7 separate regions of the Homo sapiens genome follow, and regions 1, 3, 4, 5, 6 and 7 are each linked to region 2. The links are contacts of gene promoters, found by promoter capture Hi-C in blood cells and fetal thymus (Javierre and others, 2016). All regions are on one chromosome and are shown on one strand. The core of a region is centred on a gene start or on the middle of the fragment in contact, and the rest is flanking DNA. Distances in the headings are between cores, read along the strand shown.

Evidence for each region. The method cuts DNA at HindIII sites, captures the fragments that hold promoters and counts their contacts. A CHiCAGO score of 5 or more calls a contact.
Region 1: a fragment that was not itself captured here is called in contact with the fragment with the promoter of SNRK in region 2 in 3 of 17 cell types (total CD4 T cells, naive CD8 T cells and non-activated CD4 T cells); the score reaches 6.7 in total CD4 T cells.
Region 3: a fragment that was not itself captured here is called in contact with the fragment with the promoter of SNRK in region 2 in 1 of 17 cell types (naive CD8 T cells); the score reaches 5.5 in naive CD8 T cells.
Region 4: a fragment that was not itself captured here is called in contact with the fragment with the promoter of SNRK in region 2 in 1 of 17 cell types (neutrophils); the score reaches 5.3 in neutrophils.
Region 5: a contact is called between a fragment that was not itself captured here and the fragment with the promoter of SNRK in region 2, in 2 of 17 cell types (megakaryocytes and neutrophils). The highest score is 7.4, in megakaryocytes.
Region 6: a contact is called between a fragment that was not itself captured here and the fragment with the promoter of SNRK in region 2, in 2 of 17 cell types (total CD4 T cells and naive CD8 T cells). The highest score is 5.6, in total CD4 T cells.
Region 7: a contact is called between a fragment that was not itself captured here and the fragment with the promoter of SNRK in region 2, in 1 of 17 cell types (neutrophils). The highest score is 5.0, in neutrophils.

Annotation. Positions count from the first base shown.
Region 1 is chr3:43,005,708-43,008,407 of GRCh38, forward strand. All of the region lies in intron 1 of GASK1A (golgi associated kinase 1A), which reads left to right. Among named protein-coding and RNA genes, the nearest start is that of GASK1A, 28 kb to the left of the region's middle. The HindIII fragment of the contact is 155 bases long and covers 1,223-1,377 here.
Region 2 is chr3:43,285,227-43,287,926 of GRCh38, forward strand. SNRK (SNF related kinase) reads left to right here and starts at 1,314. Exons shown (of 7, transcript NM_017719.5): 1 at 1,314-1,449. RefSeq lists an enhancer at 1,054-1,554 and silencers at 1,159-1,558, 1,799-1,848. The HindIII fragment of the contact is 7,817 bases long and covers 1-2,700 here.
Region 3 is chr3:43,025,836-43,028,535 of GRCh38, forward strand. All of the region lies in intron 1 of GASK1A (golgi associated kinase 1A), which reads left to right. Among named protein-coding and RNA genes, the nearest start is that of GASK1A, 48 kb to the left of the region's middle. The HindIII fragment of the contact is 8,406 bases long and covers 1-2,700 here.
Region 4 is chr3:43,646,175-43,648,874 of GRCh38, forward strand. It overlaps a transcript of ANO10 not described here. Among named protein-coding and RNA genes, the nearest start is that of ANO10, 26 kb to the left of the region's middle. The HindIII fragment of the contact is 7,613 bases long and covers 1-2,700 here.
Region 5 is chr3:43,541,777-43,544,476 of GRCh38, forward strand. The region is part of intron 11 of ANO10 (anoctamin 10); the gene reads right to left. Among named protein-coding and RNA genes, the nearest start is that of ANO10, 79 kb to the right of the region's middle. The HindIII fragment of the contact is 2,758 bases long and covers 1-2,700 here.
Region 6 is chr3:43,755,988-43,758,718 of GRCh38, forward strand. No RefSeq gene overlaps it. Among named protein-coding and RNA genes, the nearest start is that of ABHD5, 66 kb to the left of the region's middle. The HindIII fragment of the contact is 170 bases long and covers 1,385-1,554 here.
Region 7 is chr3:42,801,940-42,804,639 of GRCh38, forward strand. It overlaps HIGD1A (HIG1 hypoxia inducible domain family member 1A), which reads right to left and starts at 2,551. Exons shown (of 4, transcript NM_014056.4): 1 at 2,497-2,551. RefSeq lists a silencer at 2,507-2,700. The HindIII fragment of the contact is 1,902 bases long and covers 337-2,238 here.

The DNA of each region.
Region 1 (2,700 bases), core at 50-2,549, 280 kb before region 2:
TGGGGTTGCTAAGATCTGCAGTAAGAATGAATCTGCTATCTGTGAAATTGTCTTCTGAAGAAAGAGAAATTCATGCTAGTTTTGCTGCTGCACCTCAAACTGTGGCAAAAGTTACAGCCAAAGTGTGTGATAAGTGCTTCATTAAGATGGAAAAGGCATTCAATTTGTGGGTGGAAGACATGAACTTCTAGAAATGTGTTCTGATTTATGGCAATGGGATTTGGTACTGTCCAAGGTTTCAGGCATCCGCTGGGGGGCTTGGAACGTATCTTCCAAGGATAAGGGGTAGGGACTGCTGTATTATATTATGATCACCTTTCCTTTCCTGGGCACCTTTCTGTTTCTCTCTAGTTAGTAATCATCTTTTTTGTTTCCTTAGTTTTTTTCATGTACTTATCACAAGCCAACTTCCTCTTAATAGACTCAAGCACACATCAATTTCTTTCTTTGGAAACCCCCTGCCCAGAGCCTTTTGACCTGCTCCTTCTGAGCTGGTCGCTTTCTTGGTCGGTGCACAGCCGTTGGCTTAGGATCCTCCTTTCCCAGCATCCCACGAGTCTCTTTGCCTCTCTTGTTTTGCATCTTTGTTTCCTGCATCCCATGTCTTCCTCTTTCTTGGCTTACCTCCTGGTTTTAGTGGAGTAATTTAACCAATAGCTTGTTAAAAGTGACTACAGGAGGGGTAAACCATGTTGAAATGTTATATGCCTGAAATTGCCTTCATTCTACCCTCATATTTGATTGATAGTTTGGCTTGAGTATAGAATTAAAAGAAATAATTTTCTGTCAGATTTTGAAGGCTTTGCTCAATGGTGCTCTAGCCTCGGGTATTGTAGTAAAGAAGTCCACAGCCATTCTGATTCTTGATTACTTGGTATAAAACTTGTTTTATTTTTTTCTCCCTTTCTCTCTGGAAACTTGGAGGATATTTTCCCCAGTGTTCTGAAGCTTTACAATGATGTGCCTTGGTTTGTCTTAACCTGGTTTTCTAATAACAGAGCCCGAGGCTGGAGGCTTATGTGCTGTTATTTGGGAGTACAATCTCAGGAAACACCCAAAGAGAAGCAGGGAAACAGGAGAGATGATATGGCGATGTATTATCAAGCTGGCTGCTGCTACAGGCAATTGATTGTGTGATCCTATGGACCTATCCAAGAAGCTGCATAAATTGAATTCAGGACCACTTGAATTTACCCACTGTCTTCAGTCTCCCAATGATCAAAGCTTTGCTCCACTCGACATAAGTTTCCCTATACTTCCGGGTTGTGTACCCCTCAGTATCACACACCTGATAGTCATAGGAGAGCAGGTGAGAGGCACAGCACTGCCAAGTGGTGAAGCTCAGGATAGGTGGCCCCAAGCAGCCATTGCTATTGAAGCTTTTGCTTTTAATGGCTGCAGCAACAAACTGTCTCCATGACCATGGAAACAGGACATACTGTTGCTAGTGGGTGATCTCATCAAAATACAAGTGTGTGGGGCAATTGCAAATATCTGAATTCCATACCACTAAGGTCTCACTTTTTAGCCATTGTGTTGGATACTTGGGGGGCCCTTGCAATATTTCAATGTTCAGCATGTAAATGTTCTCTTAAAACTCCTGTTTTCAGTATAGTCCCCACTGCCCTCAACTGTCCCAGGTGTCTCCCAGCATGTAGCTTCCCTAGCTTTCTCTCTCCATAGAACAAACTTTCAGTCTTCTGCTGGGTGCAGGAGGGGCAGCTGCCTGACTTCACAGTATGGAGATCTGGGTGTCTAGCTTCTTCTTAAGTCGACTTTCAGCCAATCCTTTTGTTTTTTATCCTATCAGCACCAGTCCTTTACCTGTTGGGGGCTCCCTTGGTGTAAATCATGTTGAGTTTTGACCTGCCTTCTAGTTTAGGATTCAGCTTTCATGAGTCTGCTCAGGCCATTGCTACTCATTCACCTGCTTTCCAGCTTCCTGAATTTTGCTTTTATGGTTGACTGCTTTCCTGTTCTCTTTATCCTTAGAGGTTTGTTCTTTAAAAATAAGAACACTTTACTGTTATTTTCATATTTCAGGAGGAAAGAAAGAGAATAGCAGGTGCTTAGTCTACCATTTTTAGCTGAACAACAGCATTACTTTTCTAAATCAAATTGTCTGGCTCCAAGCCTGTCCTCACCTAGGTGACCTGATATCAGTCAGACAGCCCAGCTCAATTTACCTTTAGGAGCCTTGGTTGGCTTTTAAAGCAAAGGCCTTTTTATTCTATCCTGGGGCAGGAAGAGGATGGCTTCCAGCTCTCCGGGTTTGCTTGCTTGCTTGCTTGCTTGGAGAAGAAAGGCAGGTGGAGAAACAACTCTTATTCTTTTAGGCTTCTATAATAGCAGGGTCAAAACTCCGGCTAATAAACTGATGGAGTTAGCTAGACCTGGGTTTGAGTCTAACTCTGCCACTTAGCTATGAGGCTGTAAGAAACTGACATAAGCTGTCTATGCCTCAGTTTCCTCAGCTTCCCAATGTGAGGAATGATACCTCCCTTCCAGGGAGGTTGCAGGAAGTAGAGGAACTGTCTTATCAGGTACCTGGCACAGGGTCTGGCATGGGAGATGCTCAACAATGCTGGCTACAGTTGGTGTTCTGGAGTCTCTCGAGGGAGGACCTCCACGCCTCCATGGTGCCACGTGCACCCCCAGACGTGGCTGCCTGCCTCCTTCCTAGTCCTCTGAAGCCGGAGG
Region 2 (2,700 bases), core at 64-2,563:
ATGTCAAAATGAGATGACTCTTTTATGGTCTTTTCAGGTCAGAGTGATCCCAGGTGGGACCCTAAGGCGCAGAGGCCTAATCTGAGGCTTTCCCTGGTGCTCTCCCACCACCTGATGCAAGGGTATTAGGGTAACTGGGAGTCCCCTTGATCAGAAAACCCTATGTTATTACCCTAAGAATCAAACTGTTTGCACCTCCCAACAATCCACTCCTGCTTCCCAATCATCTTCAGACATGCAAAGTTGATGCATAGAAGCTAAAAGGCTTTTGACATTTGCAGGTCAACAGAGATTTGCTAAAACCATCTAGATTTCTCTTCGCAGTCCAGTCAATTCAACCAAGCCTGCAGCATCTCCGCAGCTCTTCTGGCTTGTGTCCTTCCTTGCTAGGGGTCCTTTCTTGGGGAAGGGTGGACACAACGTGGGAACAGAAGGGGAAAAGCAGGTTGAAGAAATCTGGCGTCTGGTTTGTTGGTGTTCCCTTCCAGGAACCCTGAAGAGCTGGTCTCTATTGCATGCCATGCTTCCAGGGGTGGGAGTCGGGAGTCCCCTCCCACCCTCTGCGGCCATCCCTAAGCTCCCTTCCAGAGCAACCTGGCCTGGCGACCATACCACTGAACCATCAAGGGCTATGGTTAATGCCCGGCGTGTTTTGAATCTCTGACTTCACGTGCTTTGATGTGTCCCCACGACCGTTTACTTTTCTATGCTGTTGCCAGAGGCTGCCTAGCAGGGCCTGTGTCTCCCGCTGACCTTTAAGGCCAGCACTGCATTCAGATGTTGGGCTTTTCCAATTTTGCTTAAATAACAACAAAATCAACCGAATTTTTTCAAATTAGAGTCCCAGGGAGAAGAAACTACAGAGAAAAAAATCATATTATGTATATATATGTATATACATATGTGCATGTGTGTATGTATATGTATTTTTACAATTTTTTTATCCTTGTTTAAACCTGGGCGGGAACCAAAGAGTAAAGCGCGTGCGGCTCCCTGCCCCCTGCCGCCAAGACGCAGTCCTGTACAGACGCGGTCCCTTCCCTCCGATTTCCCCTGACAGCTCGCGCTACTTTTTCCCGGCCATTGTTCCGTGTCCCTGGTGCTTCCTCCTCCCCCGTCCTCCATCCTCCTTGGGCGCCTTGCCCGCTTTGTCCCGCCAGCCGCCTCAGCCCCGACTCGCCGGGGTCAGAAAGCCGCCAGGATGCCCTCCAGCAGCCCGCGCGCCGGCCGCAGGTGCGCGCCGCCCCGCCCTGCCCTTCCCGCGGCCCCGCCCCAGCGCTGACGTCACAGTGACGCGCAGCCCGCGCAGGCGCAGCTACCCGGCACCCCCTCCCCGCGGCCGGCAGCCCGCTCGGTATTATGATTAGCGCTGGGTGCGGGGTTTCGGCGGCCGGGAGGGAGTTGTCGGCGCCGCGGCCGCTGCGGACGGACGCTCGCCTGCCGGCTGAGGTAGGGGCGAGCGCGGAGCGCGGCGGGGCGCGGCGGCCGTAGGCAGGGGTGCGGGGCCGGCCTCCGCCGCCTCAGTAGCCTCCGCTGTTGCCGGGCTGGGCGCCCGGGCCGGGGCGCTCGCCGCAGGCGGAAAGTAAGTTGCGCTCTCGGCGCCGGCCGCAGCGCGCGGCCCGGGAGGACGCGGGGCCCGGGCTGCGGTGGCCCGGACCCCGCGGCGCGGCCTGGCGGCGGGGCGGCGGCGGGGCCCGGCGGGAGCCGTCACTGCGGCGGCGGCCGCGGTCGCCTGGAGGCCCTGCCCTTGCGGCCGCGGCGGGATTGCGGCACCTCGGAAGGCGCCCGCATCCCCGCGCCCCGCCCCGGAGCGGGCCGAGTGCGGCGCCCGCGGGGCCCCGCGCCCTGGGCGCTTGGTAGGGTGTGTGTTCTTTGAATGCGTTTTCCCCTTTCAGAAGACTGTAGAAATCCGGCCTCAGCAAAAGGGTTCCGTGGTCAAACTGCTTTACAATAGAGTGGGGATGTTGTCTGTAGAGAAAGGGCAAAGGGGTAAGGAAAGAGGAGCAGTGCCATTCCCGAGGGAGAGCTAGAATTTTTGCAGACTGGGAGACTGGGAAATCTACGTTCTTTTCCATAGTCATCGCCTGTTGATTTCTTTCTGGTCCATTTTACAGGGACCTTCCTGCCTTTTACTTGGACTTGGGTTGCAGGAAAGTGGCAGCCTTTTATCTTCGGGGTTCTTGGAGCTGTGCTATTTGTAACTGTTGGATCGCATACAGTCCAGTAGTTTCATAGGGAGTTTCAGGCTTTGGGGAGAATTTAGCAGTGGAGTTCCTAAATCTATAGAGGTCTGAGGATATGGGACCTTTCAAACTGTCATGTTACTTTCCACCCCCCTTCCCTTTAATTATGTGCATTCTTAAAGTCTTAGGAACCGTGGTAAAGTTGACTTAATGCCTTAAACATTTTGTCAGGTTTTAAGGTGAAGCATGGCTTGCAAGTGTTGGACATCCTGTTGAATCTCCACCAAGTTCCTATCAAACATGAAATGCCTGAGTTTGGGCTCCTTGTATGGGATTGGAGCACTATGTCCCAAACCAGTCTTTAACTTATCAGAATATATACAGCAGTGTACTTTAAAGCCCGGGTTGTCAAGGCTTATGTAATCAGTTTGTTAATTTATAATCTCGTTACATTGCTTTCCAGATTTATAAAATAATTCCCTTAAGGAAATCTGTCCTCAACGTCTGCTTAAATATT
Region 3 (2,700 bases), core at 58-2,557, 260 kb before region 2:
TAAACTCTGCATCCTCACCTTACCCTGGAACTAGCAGAAAGTAACAAAGAAGATGGAAGACAAAATGCAAATTCCTTTTTCAGATAAATTAGGAGGCAGTCACCAAAATACTTGGGAACAGCGTAAGAAGCAGCCAGTTTCATGCAGGTGCAGTGTTGGAGGAAGTGAGAAAGAGTGGAAGAGGGAGCCCAAGTTGGCAGATCTCAGAAAGCACCAATGAAATATGCCGGAAGGTGAGTGACACACCTGAGGAGCAGAATCACCATCCCCCGCTTGTCTGCAAAAGAGGGTGTGGAAATGGGATGGGGGCAAGTTTAGTGGCTCAGAGGATCCAGCTGGACTATTGGGATTAGAAAAGCAGAGGACACTGTGATACATAAAGAGCCATGCCAACAAGCCATATTTGCAGGATGCAGCCTGGTCATGGGGTAGATGAGAAGAAGAAAGCATCTGCATCATGAAAACCGGTTGATTTCAAATTCCACCGGGGTTCTACAGGAACCTCTTTCAATTGACTGGTCCAACTCATACAATAAAAACAGTCCAGCATCTATGCAGAGATACTGTGAGAAAAAAGGAGACAAAGAACAGCAATGTTTCTTAACAGATGAGGGCTGGCCACCTGAAAATATTACCTGGAGACAGTGGAATTTTGAGCAATCTTATCACAATGAATTTTTAAAACTTAAAGTACCCTCTGTGAATAAATACCACAAAGCAGAAATGCAAGAACTCAAGAAAAAATGGTAAAATGGAAAGATGTGAAATATGAGCTGGAAAGAAGTAGGGAAAAGTGGAAAATAACAGAAAGGGTGAATAAATATTAGGTAAAACACAGTAAGTCAAATAGAGTATAAAAACAAGAACAGTGAACAAAATGAAATGAAAATAGTTAGAAAGGATTAAAGAGAAGGTAAGAAACATATAAGGAAGATAAAGGAGAGCCACCGTGTACATAATTGAAGAGCCTAAAGAAAAAAGTAAAATAAAGTCATGGAATGGAAGAAATATTTAATATTTAGCTCAAGAAAATTCTCATGAAATAAAAAGACTTGTGTTTACCTTTTCTAATAGGGCATATTGCACGCCAAGAAAAGCTGACCCGAAACAGTCAACACTGATAGATCTTAGGAATGTTACTGGATGTTAAAGAAAAAGAAAGAATTCTTAGGGCAGCCAGGCAGGGTAAAAAATCAGTTCAATCTTAGATTTCCCTTAACCTTACAAAACAGTGGAGCAGAACCCATAAGCTATTCAAAGAAAGAAACTGTAAGCCAAGTATTTTCTATGTAGGCAACTTTACTTCATGTATGAATGCTGTAGAAAACAGTTGGAACATGCAAGAAATCAGAGAATATTGTTCCCATGTGAATTTCAGTCAACCAAGAAATAATGGGAAACTGGGTCCAAAGGGACAAGAGTGTGCATACAATATATTAACTGAATAACTAAGACCTGAACAAATGTGGGTATTAGAGAGATGGAATCGAATGTATACGCTTCCTATTGTACCAATGCGTATGACACAAATATAAACAATTGGATGGGGGATGAAGGCAAAAGGTGGGAGAAAGAATTAATATGCTGTTTATTTCATTAATAATAGCAGAGAACTAAAGAATATCATTTAAAGCTGAGAAATATATAGAAATGTAAACACATTTAATTGTACAAAGATAAACATTTAAAAAGATAATACTAGTTATGAAAATTGAATGGTAGAGGAAAGGGAGGGCAAGGAGGGGGAAGAGGAAATAATTTTAATATTGTTCTTTTTAGGGGATTAAGAGCTACAGTCTAAAGAACCAGACAATTAAGGGCATACAATAATAAAGGTAATAATTAGGACCCAAATCAAAATTTCCTAAATATTATAAGAAATATACACCAAAAGACAAAGTAAAAGTAAGAGAAAAGAAAACATAGTACAAGACTTCAAATATTATAAATATTGTTGATGAAAAGGTCAAACTGTAAAATATTTGAAGAGATTTATTCTGAGCCAAATATGAGTGACCAATGGCCTGTGACACAGCCCTCAGGAGATCCTGAGAACAGGTGATCAGACTACAACTTGGTTTTATACATTTTAAGGAGACATAAGACATCAATCAATACATTTAAGAGGTACATTGCTTTGGTCCAGAAAGGAAGGACAACTGGAAGCAGGGGTTCCTGGGTCATAGGTAGATTCAAAGATTCTCTGATTGGTAATTGATTGAAAGAGTTAAGTTATTGTCTAAAGACTTAGAATCAATAGAAAGGAATGTCTGGGTTAAGATAAGGGCTTGTGGAGACCAAGGCTTTATCATGCAGTTGGAGCCTCTAGGTAGCTGGCTTGAGGAAATAGACTGTAAATGTTTCTTATCAGACATAAAGAGGCTGTTCTAACAGTCTTAAGGTCTGTGTTGATGTCAATGCTGGTCAGCTGGGCCTAAATTTCAAAAGGGAGGACGGTATAATGAGGCATGTCTGGCTTCCTCTTCCCATCATGGCCTGAACCAGTTTTTCAGGTTAACTTTGGAAGGCCCTTGGCCAAAAGGAGGGGTCCATTCAGATGGTCAGGGGGCTTAGAATTTTATTTTGAATTTACAATACAGAAAATATACCATAAAATATTACAACAGAACTAAGACTAAATATGTATGGCATATCAAGTAATGTAAATTAGCTAAACCCACCTAATGAAAGAACACAGAG
Region 4 (2,700 bases), core at 36-2,535, 360 kb after region 2:
AGAGTCATGTTCAAAGTTATAGATTAGCTTGTTTTAGTATGTAAATTTTAGTTGTTTTACTCTGATACAATGTGAAAACAAAAGATTCGAGGAGTTCTAATTCCCATGCTTCTAAGAGGGGACTCTTTCCACTTCCCTATTTTGAGCAGGGATGATGAGGAGGAGGGAGAGTAGACCAAGGGCACACTTCTGCCTGCTACCTGTCCTGATCCTTGTATATGCTCATTGTAACAGCATGTGTGGCTGAGATTGTGAATTCGTCTTTGAGTTAGAGAACTAAGATAACAAATTTATGGTGGAAGGAGCCTTAGAAGACAGAGCCATGGTTATGGTCATGCTGAGTCAGTAGTCTCTACTTTTTGTTTGTTTGTTTTTGAGACGGAGTCTTGCTCTGATGCCCAGGCTGGAGTGCAGTGGTGCAATCCTGACTCACTGCAACTTCCACCTCAGCCTCCTGAGTGGCTGGGATTACACGTGCCTGCCACCACACCACGCCCAGTTAATTTTTGTATTTTAGTAGAGACAAGGTTTCACCATGTTGGCCAAGCTGGTCTTGAACTCCTGACCTCAGGTGATCTGCCTGCCTCAGCCTCCCAAAATGCTGGGATTACAGGTGTGAGCCACCACACCTGGCCTCTTCTTTCTTTACATAGACTCATATGACTGTTTACTTCTAGTTCGGTTCTAAAATGAGAAATTTGTGCTGGTCACACAAACTGTCCCTTTCAAGTATTATGGAGTCATCCCTGAAGGTGGGGGTACAACATCTGGAAGGTAAAGACTGGCTTGTTGTGAAAAGCGGGAAAGAAAAGCACCCTCCCTTCCCAAAGAAGAAAATTCTCTTCGACCTTCCAACTGTTAAGGTCTGGAAGTCTGCCATTGGAGTATGATTCCTTTGATTTATGGGTCCAGTCCAGAAGACTGGATGTATTAGTGTGGATTCTTCAAAGAACCAGAACCAAAAAGATATGTGTATATATGTGTGTGTGTGTGTGTGTGTGTGTGTGTGTGTGTGTGTATTCTATACCCATAGATAAATAGATAGATAAGAGATTTATTATGGGAATTGATTCACATGATTATGGAGGGTGAGAAATCTCATGATCTGCTGTCTGCAAGTTGGAGAATTAGGAAAGCCAGTGGTGTGTGTTGGGGAGTTGGGGGAGCGCTGGTATAAGCCCCAGAGTCTGAAGGCTTGAGAACCTGGGGCTTAGATGTCCGAGGGCAGAAGATGGCTGTCTCAGCTCCAGAAGAGAGAGTGAATTCACCCTCCTCCCACAGTTTTATTCTCTCTAGGCCCTCAACGGCTTGGGTGATGCCCACACACCTTGGTGAGAGCAAATTCCTCTCTACTCAGACTACTGATTCAAATGTTAATCTCTTCTGGAAACATCCTCTCAGGCACACCCAGAAATAATGTTTAACCAGCTTTCTGGATATCCTTTAACCCAGTGAAGTTAAGACATAAAATTAACCATCATATTACACTACTCTGTATTCGAAGTATTCAAATCCTTTTACTGTCTAATTCTAATTACTTTTCAGCCATATCCCCATGGGCTCTGGAAGGAGACAGATTGCAGAGTTTAGGATTCTGATGCAATCACTTAACAGTAGTGTGACATAGATAGACTAAACCTTTCTGGGTTTCAGTTACTTCATTTGTAAAGGGGTAACAATAGCTCAGAATTCATAGGTTTATGTAGGGATTAAACAAGTTTAAATACATGAACAGTGATTAGCATAGCTGTGGCCTCAACTACTACTATTACCATTAAAGGCCCTCATCTCTCTACTTTGGCTGTCGTGCCCAACTCATTGTTACATTCTTTCTTCACCTCTCTCAAGGGAACCAACCTCCATCTAGGTTACTTGTTACAGCCAGGCTGAAGCCCAGGAGACCTTCTCTTACCTATCCAAGTTTCCAGAATCTCACCCTCCTCTGGGCTCCTCACGTATAAAGTTTTATACTTTATTCACATAAATACAAAATAAAAATGCATTCATTAACTTTTCAACCTGAATTTCTAACCTTGAGGCAGGTCAGACTAGCTTAAATCCAGGGAAGACAAACATTTGGAGGTGGAAAATTTCATCTTCTGCCAATGGGCAGGGAGAAAGTGGCCCTGTTACAGGAAAGAGGTCTGGATCCAAACCCCAAGAGAGGGTTCTTGGATCTTGCCAAGAAAGAGTTCAGGGCGAGTCCATAGAGTAAAGTGAAAGCAAGTCTATTAAGAAAGTAGAGGAATAAAATAATGGCTACTCTATAGACAGAGTAGCCCCAAGGGCTGCTGCTTGCCCATTTTTATGGTTATTCATTGATTATATGCTAAACAAGGAGATTATTCATGCCTCCCCTTTTTAGACCATACAGGGTAATTTCTTGACATTGCCATGGCACTTGTAAACTGTCATGGTGCTGGTGGGAGTGTAGCGGTGAGGGTGATCGATCGGAGGTCACTCTCGTGGCCTTCTTGGTTTTGGTGGGTTTTAGCCCGCTTTTTTTTTTTTTTTTTTTTTAAGATGGAGTCTGGCTCTGTCGCCCAGGCTGGAGTGCAGTGGCGTGATCTTGCCTCACTGCAAGCTCCGCTTCCCGGGTTCACGCCATTCTTCTGCCTCAGCCTCCCGAGTAGCTGGAACTATAGGCGCCCACCACCACGTCCGGCTAATTTTTTTGTATTTTTAGTAGAGACGGGGTTT
Region 5 (2,700 bases), core at 80-2,579, 260 kb after region 2:
CAGGAAGCTCGATCTGGTAATGGAGCCACGTGATTGTCATACAGTTTTAGTAAATGATAACAGTGACTTTCACAAAGGGTCCTAGGTTATCCAAGGATGGAATGGAAGCCAGGGGAAGTGAAGGGGAAGGAGACTAACAAACATCTGGCATTCGACTAACGCATTTCTTCTGTAAGCCATGGACACCCATGTGAGGGCCACAGCGGAAGAGAAATATGATCAGAGTTTCATTTAGGAATAACCACTCCAGCAGTAGAGAGCATGGGCCAAAGGAGGAAAAGCAGGAAAGCCAGAAGGCTTTCCTTCTGTAAAAAAGATCTGCTGTAAAAGTTTAGGTGAGAGCTCCTGAACTGTATGCTTTAAATAAGGGAATTGTATGGTGTGTGAGTTATGCTCACCACAGCTGTTTTAAAAAGTATGTCTAGATGAGAAATGGTAAGAACATGAACTCAGTGACAAGGGAGAGAGCCGAAACAAATATTCAGAAGTCAGAATCAGCAAGTCTTGATGAGGGATGAATGAGAGGGAGGGAGGGCTAGGCTGAGGCGTGGAAGTAAGATCAGCAGAGAGAAGAAAACAGCCATGCCACAGATAGAAGGTACGTAAGAGAGGGAGATAAACATGTAAGCAGCAAACTGTAACACAGACGGAACCAATGCAATGCTATGATGGAGAGCCTGGCCCATGACAACAAATCTAGAGCTGACAGAGTCATATGAACTAATTGCTGAAAGAGGAACTCATTAACAACAGTGGTGCTATAAACTGTTATCAATTTTCCACTTCCTCCTCTGCATCAAACATGGTGCCTGACACTTCTTGTGTACACTACCAATGTCTCCATTTTATATCCAAGGAAACTGAGACTCAAAGATTAAAAGGAAATGCTGGGATTCTAATTCAGTTACCACCAGACTTTGACACCCCAAGCTACCTCTATGCTGTGACACTACCTGCTTAACCAAATAATCATGAAAATGATAATAAAGATAACGAAAGTTTCATTCTGATACTAAGCTGGTTAGAACTGCAGCTCACATCCCCTGTGCCTTGACCAAGTACTCAGCCCTGTGTTTGGCATTTCACATATACAACCTCATCTATGCCTCGCCTTGTGAGAGTGGTAACAAGACCTGCAAATTAGTAAGCACCTGCTCAATACCAGACACATAATCAGAGTTATACATGTGTTATTTCTACTCTTTAGAACACTCATGCAAGGGAGGCTGCACTGGCCTCACTCTGAAGTCAAGGGAATGGGCTCACAAGACAAGGTGATACCCTAAGAGGCAGTATAGGGATAGAATCCACATTTGTATAGTTTCAAATATCTATAAATCTCTCTCTCTTCTCTCCCTCTGTTTCTCTCTCTCCTTCCCTCCCTCTCTCTTAGTTGAGAGAGAGGAAGAACACATGTGTGACAAAATGTTCAAAATCAGTGAATCCTGATAAAGAATATATAGGAATTATCTGTATAATGCTTGCAACTTTCAAATCTGAAACTAGGAAAATAAAGCCTGTGAGTCAGGGCACAAAAGAACCTGGAAAGGCTCAGTTCATTCTCAGAGGATACTTCTGGTATTACAGATAAGACTCAATTCTGCTTCTTTTCTTTTCTTTTTTATTTTTTTGAGACGGAGTCTCGCTCTGTCACCCAGGCTGGAGTGCAGTGGCCGGATCTCAGCTCACTGCAAGCTCTGCCTCCCGAATTCACGACATTCTCCTGCTTCAGCCTCCCAGTAGCTGGGACTACAGGCGCCCGCCACAGCGCCCGCTAATTTTTTTGTATTTTTAGTAGAGACGGGGTTTCACCGTGTTAGCCAGGATGGTCTTGATCTCCTGACCTGTGATCTGCCCGCTTCGGCCTCCCAAAGTGCTAGGATTACAGGCGTGAGCTACTGCGCCCGGCCTCAATTCTGCTTCTAAGCAGCTGCTGGCAGATGGAGAGGGGGTGCCACATGAAAACTTATTTTTTAAAAGAAACTGTAATTAAATGATATTTTTTAAACCACGAATTAAACATGCATGGTACAGGCAGGCTTGGTGGTCACCAGGCCCTAAACATTAGAAATGCAGTGTAATTTCTGGGATGAGTAGTTAACTCGTCTTCACCTTAGAAAAAGAACCAAATTTAGTAGGTAAATTGTCAGTAATTCAACATGTCTGATAGGTACATCTTGCCAAGTTTAGAATTAAAACTGTCAATTAATTTAGAATTAAAACTGTCATTACTAAAATGAAGTATTATCTAAGATTTAATATTTGGAAGATATCAGGCCATTTCTATTTTTTAGAAATTGGAGACATACATAATTCTGCAGGTAAAGTAGTAATCTTTTGCTAAAAATTACATCAAAAAAGCAAACTAAGTTTGCCTCAAAAAGAAGGATGATAATTACTTAAGGGAAATTATTTGAATATTGATTTAATCTTGAGAGCTGAACTTTATGACACCGCCAGTATTTATTTTTAACCCACAAAAAATGGCATTTTCACATGTTTTCATCTATTACATTGGTAGGCTATTCTCTGGTTCAGTCTACAAAAATTTCTTTATTTTGCAAATGAAAGTAGTGTTCAAGTGTCATCAATTTTTAAAGGCAACACTAGATGGCAGTAAATACACAAAAGTTGTGACAAATGACACAGTTCTCATAATACAGCAGTGATCATTTTTGCCTTTACTCAGTTTCATCTGTA
Region 6 (2,731 bases), core at 220-2,719, 470 kb after region 2:
TGGTCGGCAGGCACAGCTTTCACAGCCAGGCCTTGCTTGGGACTCGGCCCCCGAGCATTGGTGAGAATTCTATTTAGGTCTTCCGTCTTTGCACATTTATTATTACTGGTTCTGGTGGGGTGGTTCTCTTTGAGGCAGTTTACACCGTGAACCTGAGTTGAACTCAGGCTCTGGCACTTACAACCAAGTGACCTCGCAGGTCTGTTTTCCCAGAAGCAGACCACTAGATAAACCTTTGCACGAAAGTGTTTCATTGCAGAATACTCCTAGGAAAATACAATAGGGGGACAGGAGAGTGGGGCCAGGAAGGGAAGGAGGCCAGGCAGGGTGCAAAGGGGCAGCATCGAACACAGTCCCATAGAAGGAGGAGGAAAGGCTCCCACTTGGCTCAATTCTGGTGGAGCTCTGGGGTCAGTGGAGACCACACCTGAGTGTGCCTGTCAAAGGCAAGGGAGCTAGAAACATTTATAGCCCTGCACCCAACAGTCTAAGGTTCAGGGCTTACCTGGCACACCTAAATTCCCAAGGACCCCAGACTCTTGTGGGTAGGCAAAGTAGACCCTGGTAGTCAGAGGCAGCTGTTCTCAAAAGTGACAGAAGCCAGGCACATGGGAGTTGTTGTTCACAACACTTGGGCAGTGGCTGAATCTGCTACAAGTGACCTCAAGCAGTTGACTTAGTCCGTAAGACCCATGTGAAAAACGGGGATTATAATGTACCCTCTTCACAGGATTGATGTAAGATCAAATAAGATGATACATAAATGTAAAGCACCCTGACAATTACTGCTCAGACATGGTGAACTCTCACTAAATAATACTATGATTATGCCGAACAATGGCACAAATTTAACTTCTGGATCTGTAGCCTATTAAGTCAACCCACCTTTCTCCTGTCCCCATGAAAGGCATGGCTACTCCATCCTGAAGGACCCTTGCCTTGTCATCCTTGTTGGGGCTGAAATCCTGGTAGCCATCATCAATCTACCTGAGCTGGATGGGAAGTGAAACCATTTACCTGCTCTGAAGTGGAAGGAAACCCTCCCTGTGCAGGTGGCCCGGTTCCTGCTCCCTGAGCCCTTCAGCATGGCTGTTCCTACCTGCCAGTGTGGCTCCTTCAAAGGGTTCCATGCTGAGAGGCTGGCTGCTCATTTTGAAGATGTGGATACCACTCAGATATTTTTGGAACTTGACTTTAAAGCCTGTCTAGTTCATGGAACAGCAACGTCAATCACTTTTTACTGAGCATGTACTACGTGCCACACATTCTACCAAAGGCTTGCTAGGCAATAGTTACTTAATGTTCACAGTACCCTGGGAGGTAGGTGCCACTATCTCCATTTAAAGATTTCCCCTCAGGGATACTGAAGTTGGAGGTCTTAAGAAGCTTCCTTAAAGTCACACACTCAGGAAGAGGCATCTTGTCTACCTCCTTAGCCCACGTTTGGAGTCATGTGCAATTAATCCACTCACTCCTTAAACCTATGCATTCCCATTTGTGCGTATCGAATTTTATAATTATTTCTAATCTGCCTCTAAGATTTAATAGAGGTTAAGCTTTCTATGTGAGCTCACTCTTTCTTTCCTTCTTCTTCTCCTTCTTCCTCTTCCTCTTCCTCCTCTTCTTCTTCTTTTGTTGCTTTAATAAAAGTGTTTAAAATAGCAGTTACCAGAGCTGCTGTTTTCTCTGCCTCTTTCGCCACCAGCCCACTGCCCTCATCACTGATGTTTATCTCGTGAGACCTAGGCCCCAGTTCTTTGCATTTAGAGGAGACAGCCCACAGTCCTGCAGATCTGAGATCTTGCAGCCTTTTTGCAATGACTCTCAGTTCTTACATCTTACATGAGAGTCATAATCCTAGGTCAAAGGTCAGTTCTTACAACTTTCAGTGAGAGTCATAATCCTAGGTCAAAGGTTTTTGGACTCCTTCCTCTCTTAGAGCTCTTCTGCAAATGATTCTTATTTGTGCTCAGCCAAATGTGCCTGTCCTGAAGGAGACAGGTACAGGGAAAAGAACAATGACTGCTTCTGCCTTGCTTGGCCCCCTGGAAGTGCAAAAAAGCTTAAGGTGTCACCAGCTCTGCAGTCCACACCAGCCTCTTCCTTGCCAGTTAATGGCATCTGTTCACCAACCAGCAGCAACCAGCTCATACCTCAGCCATTCTCCTTTCTTTTCTGCATTCTGAACACCAAGTGCAGAGACTCTGCACTTTTTCCATCTTCTGCACATGATATTTTCACAATGTACCAAAGTTCATTGTGGGCAGAGACTGTGTCTTAGTAAACACTATAAGAAACAGTGTATAAAGCACCAAGACAAAATTAAAAAAAAAAAGAAAAAAGAAGAACTAAGATATGGGCCCTACCTATCTGGAAGCCAGGTTTGCTGACCAAAGAACTCCCCCTGTGCCAGAGAGACAAGTCAACAGTGATGCTTGTGGAATTCTCTGGTCCCACCATGTTCCTGATTATCCACAAGAATCCTCCCCTTCAGTAGCAGCTGTGGAAGGGGGCCCATGCTGCCATGTAACCTTGGATGAAGTTTGCTCTGGATTAAGGGGCTGTTCTGGAGATTTATCAACCTCACCCCCTTCCAAATGGAAAGTGTTTTTGAACTTGCCTTGCTTGAATTGCATTATTGTATTTAGGATGTGTTAGTGAGGACTGTTGTTACAATCAGGTTGCAAAATTATGAGGAGGAAACACAAGGCTTGACTGTTACAGAACCAGG
Region 7 (2,700 bases), core at 38-2,537, 480 kb before region 2:
GGGCTGCTTGAGCCTGGAAAGTGGAGGTTGCGGTGAGCCATGATCCAGCCACTGCACTCCAGCCGGGGCAACAGGCAAGACCCTTGCTGAGGGACCCAACAAACAAACAAAAACAGGACATAAATCGTTTTTTAAAAATAGCAAGAAAGTTGGTAGTTTTTCTTATAATTATCTCACATCTGGCTGACTCTAATTCTCCAACAGGTCAATGGAGCAAAAGGTTTTTTTTTTTTTCTCCTTTCAGGAGGGAGGGGGTTAGTTGTCTCTTTCCTGTATATAAATCAAGAACAGAAGAAAACCTATTTCTCCGTTCTTCATCTATGATACAGACTCTGAAGCTTGTATGGATAGGGCATTTGACCTGGGTTTCAGAAAGTAGCCCCTGCGGTAAGCATCAGGGTGTGGGGAACAAAATGGTCATTATTTGCTTGAAACGACAGATGATAATCTGTCTGTGATTCCAGAATACCTTATGTGTACATTTCAGAATAAAATTAGTAAGGATTAATATTTAAAAATCCAACACATATCAGTTATTTGTTATTCTGTAGTCAAAATATTATAATTCCCATATAGTACATATCTAAAATACTCTCTGAATACAAAATTTTGATAACTGTCTAATTACCACGTAGAAGTTTCCAAAGTATTCATGGTTTATAGCCACCTGAATTGAAAACTGGTTAAGTATCAGGAACAATAAGTTCTAATCATATAATTTGAGAGTAACAAATCAGATGAATAATCCAAGCCAATAGCCTTATTTTACAGGTGGGGAAAGGGTTGTGAGAGGGTTATACGAATTGCTCAGTACAAGGAATACATGTCTGGTGGGGTAGGATTAGAATCCAGCTCTTCTGATAGAGAGTCCTGGGTTCTTTTGATTGACGATATATTGCCAAAGCATCAATCTTACGCTGCTGATGTAAATTAGATTAAATTGGCAGATAAGAATTCTGATTAGAAAATTTAAGAATCCATTACTCAACAGAAGCCCACGTTGTTCTCTTTGAATGATATATATAAAAAAATCATGCCTAAGGTAAACGGAATCTTCTTCAGTGACTTAACTCATCTAACAATTTCAATTGTGATTTGAAAAGACTTTTTTCACTACACCACTGCCAGACTTTCCTTCATTATCGTTTTCTCATCCACCCACAGTAGTTGTCCCAGATTTCTGTCAGAAAGTTGAATAGACGCTAAAAAAGGCACCAGTAACCAGATATTTAAAGTCAGTTTGGAGAGCACAAATTAATTCTGTACGCTTAGTAAGACACGACTGAAGACCTTTCCACAGGGAACCTAAAGAGGCATTAAGGGAAGATGAGCCGTCCAGCATCAGGAGACGTAACAGGTTGAATGAAGGATCTTTCTTCACAGTCATTTTGTCACGGGAATTACTATCTAAAGCAACGCTGGCTTCAAACTGATTTTGCATCAGTCGCCCATCAGCTTGTTTAAAATGGCTGCCAAGGCCCCAGCATGGAGATCCGGATTCAGGTGGTCTGGGGCAGAGCTCAAGGAATCTTTAAGAAGCCCCTTCAAGTGACTCTGGTGCACAAAGAGAACTCCTAGTATACAGGACTCCAAATATGTGTGTCATGCTGGAGCTTCATGACCAGGTTGTCACCGCTTCAACCTGTTAGAACTTTCCATCCAAACCTGTCTTACTCCAAAGTGCCTTTGTACTTCCGGAAGCAGGGATCCCTGTCGTGGGGATTACTCCGAAGAGGGAAATAGCTGCTTCCCACTCCGGGAATTTAAGACAAAGGCGAATATCACTGCTGCATCATGTCGGCTGCTCCTAATTCTGCCCTTACGCTGTGCTTTGTAATCTCTAACCCGCCGACTCGGCAGGAGAAAAATTTAATTCGGTCACAGAAGCACTACACAGGACCCTAGGCCTTATCACTTTCCCAGGGTGGAGGAAACACCAGGTCGGGGAGAAAAGCAAGACCAGGACTGGAAGGTCCTCTGCTAGTACGCCCTCCCCTCAACCTCCCGACCTTCCTCGCCGCCTCTCTTCCTGTGACCTTGTCGTGACTCCGTGACCGGAGCGCTCGCTCTCCTATCCCGCCTCGCCTGCCGCTTAGCCCGCTCTTCAGAATGTTCCAAGCTCCGGGGAAGCTCCCGCTCCTCGCTCCCCGCCGTCGGGCCCAGTCAACACCCTCCTGGCCCCCGTCTCTCATTACCACCCCATCAGCGAGTCTTCCCCGCTCGGCAACTCACTCCACAAGCTTCTGCTCCATCTCCTCGCTGGCTCCGTCTCCCCTCACCCGAAGGACCCTAGGCCTCGGCTCCCGACTCCTCTCATCCGCCCATGCTCGAGGCCGGGCCTGAGCCCCGGCAACTCCACCTCTCCTCCCTCATTCGAGACACGGACTCCCAGCCCCCACCCCCAAAGTCCTTTCGGCCTGGCCAAGCGCTGCCCCACTTCTTCCCGCCCCGCGGCCCGAGTCCCTGGCTCGCAGTCCCCCGGCTTGTTTCGCTTACCTAGAGCGAGAAAACCTCTCACACCCCAACCGGCTTCCGATCCCTGCAGGCGCACCCAGTCCTCCCGGCTTCTCCCCACCCACAGCCGTCCCAGCCAATCAGAGGCCAGCGGCCGCAAAAGGACGCGTGCGTGTGCGCGGCGGGTGGGGCAGTGCAGAGCGGGTCCTGGATTGGCTGGGCCGGTGAGTGCTGGCCCACTACCCC